Linked DNA regions of Homo sapiens: regions 2 and 3 are each linked to region 1. Evidence: promoter capture Hi-C in human tissues and cell types (Jung and others, 2019). All regions are on one chromosome and are shown on one strand. Each heading gives the region's core, a stretch centred on a gene start or on the middle of the fragment in contact. The rest is flanking DNA. Distances are from core to core; before and after follow the strand shown.

Evidence for each region. Contacts are between HindIII fragments. The study calls those that stand out against the background at their distance.
Region 2: a contact is called between a fragment that was not itself captured here and the fragment with the promoter of DIS3 in region 1, in 1 of the 25 tissues and cell types used here (lymphoblastoid cells).
Region 3: a fragment that was not itself captured here is called in contact with the fragment with the promoter of DIS3 in region 1 in 1 of the 25 tissues and cell types used here (lymphoblastoid cells).

The regions. Positions count from the first base shown.
Region 1 is chr13:72,780,369-72,784,223 of GRCh38, reverse strand. DIS3 (DIS3 exosome endoribonuclease and 3''-5'' exoribonuclease) reads left to right here and starts at 2,324. Exons shown (of 21, transcript NM_014953.5): 1 at 2,324-2,619; 2 at 3,221-3,378. The coding sequence starts at 2,392. It overlaps PIBF1 (progesterone immunomodulatory binding factor 1), which reads right to left and starts at 2,091. Exons shown (of 18, transcript NM_006346.4): 1 at 1,875-2,091; 2 at 503-801. The coding sequence starts at 754. RefSeq lists enhancers at 2,191-2,300, 2,218-3,132 and a silencer at 2,581-2,630. The HindIII fragment of the contact is 9,401 bases long and covers 1-3,855 here.
Region 2 is chr13:73,863,035-73,866,627 of GRCh38, reverse strand. The region is part of intron 3 of KLF12 (KLF transcription factor 12); the gene reads left to right. Among named protein-coding and RNA genes, the nearest start is that of LINC00393, 200 kb to the right of the region's middle. The HindIII fragment of the contact is 7,129 bases long and covers 1-3,593 here.
Region 3 is chr13:73,913,585-73,917,383 of GRCh38, reverse strand. The region is part of intron 3 of KLF12 (KLF transcription factor 12); the gene reads left to right. Among named protein-coding and RNA genes, the nearest start is that of KLF12, 220 kb to the left of the region's middle. The HindIII fragment of the contact is 4,104 bases long and covers 15-3,799 here.

The DNA.
Region 1 (3,855 bases), core at 1,075-3,574:
CTCAGGTGATCCCAACTGACAGATAAAACTGTGTGTATATGTCATGTACAACATAATGTTTTGAAGTATACGTACATTGTGAAATGGTTAACTCTAGCTAATTAAAAAATGTTTTACCTCACATAGTTATTTTAGTAATGAGAACACTTAACATCTGCTGTGTTTTTCAAAAACACAATGTTTTCCAAGATTACAATGTCATTAACTATAGCCACCATGCTGTCCAATAGATCTCTTGAATGTATTCCTCCTATTCAACTGTAATTATGTATCCTTTGACCAACATCTCCCCAACCCTCCTTCACCCCTAACCATGCCAGCCCTTGGTAACCACCATTCTATTCTCTACTTCTATGAACACCAAAATTATTTAAAGGCTGTACTTGTCAAGAAATATAAATGTATCATTTCAAGTTCAGATAATGTGTGTATTTAATTCTTATTTACCTGCCGTTTGAAGACAATAAAGCATATAGAACACAAAATTTAAACCTGATCTTACCTTTGTAAGATAATCCACTTTCAAATTGTCGATCATCATAGTTTTCTGGGATAGCTCAATTTTTAGTAACTGAATATTATGAAGTAGTTCTTTTCGTTCAATTAGCTGCCTGGTGATTCTGACTTTGCCCTCTCGCTCTTCTGATGAGGAAATATCATCCGTAGGAACTGTTGTTTCTAAACTAATATCTTCAGATTCCAGAGAACTAGAGATGTTCACTTTTTTTGACTCCTTTGAAATTTTTCGAGACATTTTTATTATTATGGATCAGTTTTCTTCTCTAATTTGATTTTAATATTCTGTAGGTTAAAAAACATTAATTCAAATGTACTATAAAATTAACTACAGAAATCATGGACTGTATTAAAGAGAGACTAAGGATTCCTTAAATAAATATTAGGCAATTTAGTGCATCCCAAATCTAGAACAGATTATTGCAGTTAAGTTAATGCTCAAATCAAACACATTAATTCCTAATATGAAGTCAGCCTTCGAGAAACTTAAAAAAACAGTTCCTGCGGGGAGGAATCTTACTTGGAGGAAACAAAGAAATGTACAAGATGAAGAAAAAAGCCCATTATAATCAAGAATGGCACCACTAAAACCAACACATGCTCAAAGATAACAGAAATCACGTCTGAGTTGGTCAGGGAAACGTTACACAGAGGTAGCACTTAGAATCTTTAAAGATTTGGACAGGCATGGTAAAAAGGAGAAATCATGCAGTTATTAATGATACGTAAGTGGAAGTAAAAAAACAAAGCCAAGTCTTGGAATAGTTACTCCTTTCACCGCCCCCCCAACACAAACACAAACACACACACACACACACACACACACACACACGCCCTTAACGATCAAGACTGGAAGGCCTTAAATGTCAAAATAGGGTTGGATTTTATTCTACAGGCAATGAGGCATCATTGAAGATGTTTTAAATAGGGAAAACGGGGACAAAAACATTTTTTATAGATAGCAGAATGAAAACAACAGGATATAAGAAAAATTCAAGAAATTCTAAATAGAACTTACTTCTAACTCTCTCATAAGAATGTTAGCAACTACCTTGTTTTAATACCTCATGATATAACAAATTATGCTATTAAATATTTCAGTTTTTCTAAACTGAATGATAAGGAAAGGTGTGTGGAGGGGAAACAGCGAGAACTATACTAAGATCGGCCTCCCTCCTTCTTTTTGAAGGGAAATAGGTAAGAAAAAGTGAATTCAAAGACAAATTCTCTCCTCGATTACAAAGGGCCCGAGACGGGGACTGCCTATACACTCGGCGTGAAAATTAAGCCCCAAACTTGGCAGCTCGGGGGATTCCTTGCCCCACGCGGGAAAGAAAGCGATGATAGTCGCAAGTTACCTCGAAAGTGTCAATTACTCCACACTGAAGCCTTGACCAGCAGCCAGTGCAGACACCGAGGGACCAAAGGCGTCTCCGGTCGGAAGCACAAGGTTGCAGGCCCTCAACAAGGGATTTCAAGGCAGGGGACCGTTAGGACCCGTAACCAAGACAACCATCTCCGCACCCGCAAGGAGGACAGAACCAGCACTCCCACAAGCCGCCGGAAGTCAACTCTCCCGGATGTTCCGAGGAGCGGAAAGCAACACACGTTGTGAGGTGGCGTCCAGAAGGAAGCCCCGCCTAGGCCACGGGCGGAAATGGCTCCTCGCCTTGCTTTGCCGCCCCTCCCCACTCTCGCCCAATCCCCGCGGCCGTCAGAGAGCCAACCAATGTTTATCTCGGCATTTTCCCGCGAGAAGTGTTACTAATATCCGGGAATGGAAAGGGAAGAACCTCCGGGGTTAGGCGTATTCTAGATTGACGCCTTTTGCTGGAAGAGCGCTGCTGGGGTTAGGATTCTGCGCGGCGAGGCAAGATGCTCAAGTCCAAGACGTTCTTAAAAAAGACCCGGGCGGGCGGCGTGATGAAGATCGTGCGCGAGCACTACCTGCGAGACGACATCGGCTGCGGTGCGCCCGGGTGCGCAGCGTGTGGAGGGGCGCACGAGGGGCCGGCCCTGGAGCCGCAGCCCCAGGACCCGGCGAGCAGCGTCTGCCCGCAACCGCACTACTTGCTGCCCGACACTAATGTGTTACTGCACCAGGTGCGTGGGCGGGCGAACCGCGGACAGCGCGGCCCCACGGGGACAAGGGGGTATGACAGGGAAACTGAGGCCCAGGGAGGCGGGTCTTTGGCAGTGTCACATACCTAGCGAAAGGGAAACCCCCTCGGGACCGAAGCTTCCTGTTCCCCAGGCCGAGGTTCTTTTCCTTGTGCTTTAAAAAATTTAGTTCTTGGAGTCGTAGTTCAGACACGTTATTTTTCTAACTCCTGGTGTCTCTTCTGCCTTAGATTGTAAGTGCCTGGAGGCCGGGGACCTGGGCTTCTGTGGCCTCCAGCCTGCGACTCCCAGGCAGCTTGTAAGTGCCTAGGAACAAAAAACTATGTGGGCCAACGTATTCCTTTATTAATACCCTTAATTCTACGAAGTCTTGTGATTGGTCTGTTTAAGTGTGCTTTTTTTAATAGATCTGAAGGGTTTAGTGACTATTGTCTCGTTTTCTATAGCCAAATAGCTTCTTGGCTTAACTTATTCAGTGTTTTTAAAACATAAAGTATTTATGCCCAACATAAAACAGGATTTTATGTTTGACAGAGCTATTTACAAATGAATATAGGAAAAATTAACTTTATCTTTCTTTAAGATTGATGTTCTTGAGGACCCTGCCATCAGGAATGTAATTGTGCTACAAACAGTTCTTCAAGAAGTGAGAAATCGCAGTGCCCCCGTATATAAACGCATCCGAGATGTGACTAATAACCAAGAGAAGCATTTCTATACTTTCACTAATGAGCACCATAGGTAGGAGGAATATTACGTTAAATATCAGAAAACCACAGGATTAGCAAAATTCGGGAGAGGGTTCCTGTGAGTAATTTATGACATTGTCAGAAGATAAGTGATAGATTTCATACCTTATTTAATTCTTACATGGCTGTGCAGAAGATAATGCTAAGTGGATCTCTCTAAGGTCACACAGGCATTGATGGGCTCAAGCCTAAAACCAAGGTCTGCTGACTCCTAGACTACAATAGGTACTTTAATTTCCAAAATGTTTTCATTTTGAATTGGTTTTAGCATGAGTTGGACCATAGAATCTTGGAAGATGAGATTTGCTTAAGTTCCTGGAATACCATATTATGTGAACAACTAACAGAGGGTAATAAAATATATGAGTTTGTGAAGTTTCTATTTTGTTTAAAAATAGAAAGTAGATTTATTCTTAATGGTCTTTTTAAAAGTTTAATACTTTGCAGCTGATTACATTGAGCAAGATTA
Region 2 (3,593 bases), core at 45-2,544, 1.1 Mb before region 1:
CTTCATTTTTGATAGAAAAGTATCAAAGTTGTCAATTGTTTTATTTTTTTTTATTTCAGAATGTAAACCTATCCTGTTGTCTTCTGGTTCTGTCATTTTGTTGAGAAGTAACTCTTCAAATAGTTACTCTTTGGGAGGTCATCTTTTCACTGACTACTTTTGAGTAGTTTCTTTTGAATTTATATTGCTTGGGATTTACAGATTCTTGAATTGTACAGCAAAATGTCTTTCAGAAAATATCTGGCCAGTATTTTCAATGTTGCTGTGCCCTGTTTCCCTATTCTTTCTCTCCACTCCTCTGGGCCTCCAATTACACACATGTAATACCTTTCCTGTGTGTCTTGTGTGTTTTTGTTTTGTTTTCTTTTGTTTTTTGAGGCAGTCTTGCTCTGTCGCCCAGGCTGGAGTGCAGTGGCGTGATCTCAGCTCACTGCAACCTCTGCCTTCCAGGTTCAAGAGATTCTCACACCTCAGCCTCCCGAGTAGCTGGATTACAGGCGCCCACCACCATTCCCGGCTAATTTTTGTATTTTTAGTAGTGATGGAGTTTCGCCCTGTTGGCCAGGCTGGTCTCAAACTCCTGGCCTCAAGGGATCCACCCACCTCCGCCTCCCAAAGTTTTGGGATTATAGGCGTGAGCCACTGTGTTGGGCCTGTTTTATGCTTTTTAAAGTATCTTACTACTCCCACTTGAACTACGTTCTCATTTTTGCTCATTCATTTTTCAGTTCATTAATCATTTCTATGTCCTTCTGCTGTCAAACACAAGTGTCAGGTTTTCAATTCAAATACTGTATTTTTCGCTTTTGGAATCTATATTTGACTAGGTTTTTGTTTGGTTTTGTAGACTGCAGTTTTGGAGTACAATTTTCTTATCTGTTAAGCATTTTATGATTGTTATTTTAAAGTACATGTTGGATAACTCTAAAAATTTTTAATTTGTTCTTATTTTTCTTATCTATTTCTCTCCTTTTAGTTTGTTCTTATCTATTCCTCTACTTTTAGTTTTAAGTAATTTGGGATAGTATTCTGAAATATTTTGTAATTTAAGTGAATAGCAGACGTTGTGATTATGCCTCAAGGAAAAAATGATATACATTGATAGTTCCTTTTCTTGTGTTTCTTTCCTTCTTGGATCTTGGACCTTAAAGTTCTGATTGTTTTAGTTGCTCTCCAGTGTCTTAAAATGCACTTTTACAAATTTAATCTAGTTTTGTTACTGTTTCTAATATGAGAGTTGATTTAATACAAACTACTCTGCCTTGGCTGAAATGAAATTTGGGCTTTTCTTTTTCCACATTTTACGTGCTATAAATTGTCCAGATTATTTTGCATGTCATCACTTTGGGTCCCTTTCATAAAGCTCCTCATGAAAAAGATTTGCAGTTTAATGTGGTTTTTGAAACAATGGTAAGAAATGTATACAGCTCACTACTGAGATAATGTGATTATAGAGCTACTCATGTTATTTCTTTTTATCCTAACAGAAAGCACAAAGTTATGTCTGGAATTTAGGCAATCAAGTTGACCTTAACATTTGACTTATTATAGACTCCTTTTTTGTTTAGTGGAAGGGGCCTTGATTTTTTATTTGTTGTTTTTATTATATAACTGTATATGTCTTTCATCATATATTTTCTGTCAGACTTCCTTATACCTGTACTTGGACAATTGAAGCTTTTAAACCTGTTTACTTGTTATTTACTCCTTAATTTTATATTGGATTGAAAACTATTACTCTAACCTTATTCAGACTTGACAACATTAAGTCCTCTTCAAAATTCTTATTTTTATGGTCTTTTATGTACCACTTTTATCGCATATATATTCCTTCATTCTACTGTGATCTTCTCATGTCAGTGATTAATGAAAATTTAGCACTTCCTGAATGATGAATTTTGTGTTGATTGATGTTTCTGTTGAACAGAACTTTCAGCACATTTTACCCAGGCAGTTAGACTAACTTTTGAACTCCTTTGTAATTTAAAATCTTTTGGATTGAATATTTTGGATTTATAGTCAATAATATTTTCCTTACTCTGATCAGTGAATGATATAAACGCTTTCCTTCAGTCTTTTATAAATATGCATCAGATTTTTTTCTACCTCATACTGGGGACTATTTACAATCTGATATAATTGTTGTGTATCTGTGGGAAGATAATAGATATAGACCAGTGTTTTTTCCCTAGAGAACTCAGCTCCATTTCCAATCATATTGCTTATGTTCTGCTTCATCTACTGATCAGCACTGAGGAATTTAATAGTTTGTTAAATCCTTAAATCTAATAATTTAATCCCACTCACTGGTAAAGTACAACTATGAGAGAAATTAATTCCTAATTGAAACCAAGTATAAAATGGGTAATGCTATCTGTATGTCACTTTATACAAATCAGGATATCTGCCATACCCTTTTAAAAATTAGGGAGTAATTACTTAAACTTGAATTGCTATTTAGAATTCCATTTACTACAAATTATTCAGGGATATTTTATGTAAACCAAGAGGAATTTTTAACTCCCCAGTTATCTTACCCTATAATGTTATGACATGTAGTATATTATTAATGGAAAACTGTAGAATCAAGGTTAGTTGTATCATTCTATTTAATCCATTTCCACAACTTCTTATCTATAATCTAAAATCCTTAAAAATTCTGAAAAAATACTTATTTAGAATTAAAAACTGTACTAAACTGACATACAAGTATTTATAGTCTTTATAACACTCAGTGTAAATGTTCATGTGTTTTACTGCAGAGATATTAATGTGTTGGAGTATCCAGTTCCACCCCAAGCCCTCCTGGCGGGGTGCTATTACCTTCTAAAAAACCTACCAAAAGTTTGAATTCCTGAATATGTATGGCCCCAGAAGTTTAAAACTAGAAAACTGTGCATCTCTAGTATTTGCCTGTCTGCACCAGATGAACATATTCTAATATTTGACCCTACAGTATACTATGTAATTTATTGAATAATCAAAGATGGCATCATTTTATGGGAGGCAGGAATAATACAAACTATCGGATATTCTAGTTTTAGCACTACAGTAAAATAGATAAAATAATAACTGAAACAAAAAATAACAACCACAACTAATTTTAACTATTTTGTGTCAAGCAGTGTGCATTTAATAATTGGATTTTTAGAACTCCCTTAATATGTAGGGAGTGCTAATATTAGCACTGTTGTAAGTAAATAACTGAAGTTTAGAAGGATAAGAAATTTGCTTATGGTCACGGAACAAGAGCAGAACCAGTACACAAACCTGTCTGTTGGAATCCACAGCCCATGCCGTAACACCTCTACAATACTGCTATAATATAATCTCTAATTTATCACATAAGACTCTTAATAAATATGAAATTTAGTTTTACTATCCCCATGACTTCTTGTCAGTTATTCACAGGAAAATTGCTAATAGCAAATCAGCTTCCTTTCTTGATCCAGCATGTTTCTGAGATCCTCCCTCAGTTGGCATGTGTTTAAGAAATACAAATGAATTTTAATATGAGTCTAATAAATATAATTATGGTGGTAAATCTGCTGGAATCATATAATGAATTTTAAACCCAACATAAATGCCTTTTT
Region 3 (3,799 bases), core at 817-3,316, 1.1 Mb before region 1:
GCTCCAAGGTGGTGACCACTGATCTAGGCATTGGAAAGGTTAGTGTAAATATGAGAGGAATCACTCTAGGCAGAGGGGGTAGTACCAGGAAAGGTGTTGAGATTTATTAGTATAGTAAGTGCCTGTCTCCTAGTACAAATGCTATGTATTGAGTTTTTTATAGCATTTATAAAGTAATCATTTTTGTAGCAGATAAAATGGACACTAAGAAAATGGAATGTTTCCTTTTAAGGCAGGGCCAATCAGACACTTGGTATATAATCCATGCTGAACCTTGGATAGTGAATTTTTGGTGATGCTCGTCCAAATTTGGACAGTAGCTGCAAAGTTTGATTTAAAGAGATGGCCATTCTGTGACCTAGTTGAGCACAAGAGTGGCCTACGGAATATTAGTGTGCATGTCCCTACCTTCAAAATAACCGCTGACACCATTTACTGCTTTGAATATGTTTTTTACCTGTTAATTGGGGACAGATGAAGTTAACAAATAAGGACAATTATATAACTACAGGAGCTCAAAGTCAGTCCTTGCACTTACAGTGTAGAAGATGCAGACATCCCAATTCCTCATCTCCCATTTCTTTGTTAAATATTAATATATTAATTTATGTGACTACAGTCTGTCACTAAAGCTTCTACCTTCTCACTCCATACATCAAACCTAAATGATCATACTTAAGCCCTCACTGCAAAGTAACTTACAGACTCTGGCTAATTCATCATAACATTTCTCAGATGGTTCTTACTTAAATATTATGATTGCTGTTTTACAGGCAGAGAATAGGAGGCAAAGACATTGACAGTGTTTATTTATATTGGCTATATAAAGCATTGTACCAAAAGTGCTACATTCAACATAATGACATTAATTTCATTCAGTTTTTTACTTTTGAGGATTCTGGGGTGTTGTGGGGTAGATACTTGCAGAAGAAATAACCTCGTGGCTCCTCTGCTATAGTGAGGCAGAGATATTTACTAGATGTTTGATAGCTCTGGTTCTTGTGCTCTATCCCAGTTCTGGAATTCAATAAAGCTGTATCTTTTAATTAATTGTTATTTCTATGAATAACTATTCAAAGTGTCAGCGATTATGTAAAATTATTAACACTTTAAAGCTGTGTGTGTGTGTGTGTGTGCGTGTGCGTGTGTGTGTGTGTGTGTGTGTGTGTGTGTGTAAGTATTAGCTCTTCCCCAAGTTGGAGTACTGTTTATTTGCCTGTTTCATACAGGATTTATGCTTTTTAATTATGAAAGCCAAATTATTCCAATCCTCTAAAAATCTATGCAAGATCAATAAGAACAGAACAGATAAAATCATAAAACTCCATGTTTTTGGCATGAGAGGAAGACAGAGAACACTACAAATTTTAAACTCTCCATAAGTAGAAAGGTAAACACTAACTTCTGGAAAAGAGATTTCTCAAGTTTCCTTCTCAAGTCTTTGTGGAGAGCTGAGTTTTTAGAAAAATTGCATGGAAAAGAGAAGATGTAATTGAGCTGAAATCCACCATCAAGAGAGAAAGTCAATCCTAAATTCAAAAATACTGAAAAAGGCCAGGCGCCGTGGCTCACGCCTGTAATCCCAGCACTTTAGGAGGCCAAGACGGGTGGATCACGAGGTCAGGAGATCAAGACCATCCTGGCTAACACGGCGAAACCTAGTCTCTACTAAAAAAAAAAAAAAAAAAAAAAAATACAAAAAAATTAGCTGGGCGTGGTGGCAGGTGCCTGTAGTCCCAGCTACTTGGGAGGCTGAGGCAGGAGAATGGCATGAACCTGGGAGGTGGAGCTTGCAGTGAGCCAAGATCGTGCCACTGCACTCCAGCCTGGGCGACAGAGCGAGACTCCATCTCAAAAAAAAAAAGAAACAAAACTGAAAAAGAAGCCTGGGTATATCAGAGCAGCGACTGCAGGGAAAGGGTGTAACGTCTTGTGTGTGGGGCTCAGGCAGGCAGGCAGGCAATCTTGGAAAGGCAACACTTCTACGGAAATGAGGCTGTGGGAGGCTGAATAGTGACCTCTAAAGATATCCATGTCCTAATCTCTGGAACCTGTGCATGTCACCTTATCATCCGCAAAAGAAATTTTTCAGATGCAATTATGTTGAGGATTTTGAGATAGAGAAATTATCCTGAATTATCTGGGCGGGCCCTAAGTGAAATCCCAAGGGCCTTTGTAAGAGGGAAGCAGGAAAAGATTTGGCTACAGAAGAGAAGACAGTGTGAGGATGGAACAGAAATTGGAGTGACGCAGACAGGAGCCAGGGAATACCAGCAGCCACTGGAAGCTGGGAGAGGCTAAGAATGGATTTTCACCTGGATCCTACAGAGAGAGCCAGCCCTGCAGATGCCTCCCTGCTAGCCCCAGAAGACTTATTTTGGACTTCAGGCTTCCAGAATTAAAATAGGATAAGTTTCTGTTGTTTTAAGCCATTCCATTTGTGGTAATTTGTTATATAAGCATTAGGAAACTAATACAGAATGTAAAATGGAAAACTTACTTTTGGGAATTCTTCAATGAAAGCAAAAACGAGCAAGAGGGGAAATGTAGGATCCCAAAAGGAAAAAAAAAGATGAAAACATAAATGGAAAACACATAGTTCCCCTGCCCATCACCCCCCACCCAGACCATTTACTAAAGAAACTATATTTTTGCTAACGTAACAGATGAGAGCTCTCTTGAAGGAAGAGACTGTGCTAGAATAGCCCCGTGTGCTGTCTCTTGCATTTTTTCCTGTTGAAGAATGATTGTGGGGAAGAAGGTCCTTCACAGAGGCGTTCTCCAACCTTGTTTAAATTTGCTTCACCCGTGCAACTCATACTGATTATCAAAAGCCAGCCAGAGAATTTGTTTTTTTCTGTAACTTTATAGATGTTTGTTTCTTAATGAAAAAAAAGTTATTTGGCTCTCTCCACATCTATTTGAGTGCCTGCTATGTGTACTATTCTCAGAACAGTCAAGGTAGGAGTTAGTGAAAATGCCTCACTTTGGTGAAATTCTTGGGGCTTTAATAAGCACAACCACCCCCTGCTGATGAACGCCTGCAGCAAGCCTAGGGTCCCAGGGGACGAGTGGGTTGGTCTTCTCATGTCTGCCCAGACTCACAGCAGAGTGAGCCACATAGGGAGAGTGGGTCTCTCAGAGGTGGTAAACCCGGGTGCCAGAGAAGGACCTGGAAAAGGAAATTCAAGGGATCAGGAGCAGATATCAGAAATAAGTCAGAAAATAGGGTTTAAGGTAGGTCAGAGCAAAGTGGTTTGGGGTATAGGATGGAAGGCAAAGGTGCCAGGGAACATTTATTGATGTTGGCAGGAATAAGCCAGTCAGCTTAAAGACTCAGAGCTGGGCTGGCCAGCGACCAGCAAAGATTAAAAATAAATTTGTTTAATTCATGGATATGCAGTATAAATGATTTCTTATAAAACAGTTGACTCTGCTCCTCCTTTTTAAAAAAAACTTTTCTTTTAATAGAAAAATGTTTATAAAGCTGTTCCAGATGCAATTATAATATGTTTGTATCACCATGTTTAGAAATTTGGCCCATGCTACTTGTACAGTTTTAAAAGTGTTATACTTCAAATAATAAAAGCTGAAATAAAAATATAATGAAGGTGATATTAATTTATATTTAAAAAGTGCTTTCTAAAAATAAAAATCTTTTTATTTTAAAGGTATTAAAAGGTTTCTGTCTTTTTGCCAAGTTTAAATTTGTTACTTTGGTCATTGCCAACATGAAAGCTTTATTTTATTTATTAGCCCATCCAGTCCAGTTCTCCCTTTCTCACTATGTGAGAGGAGC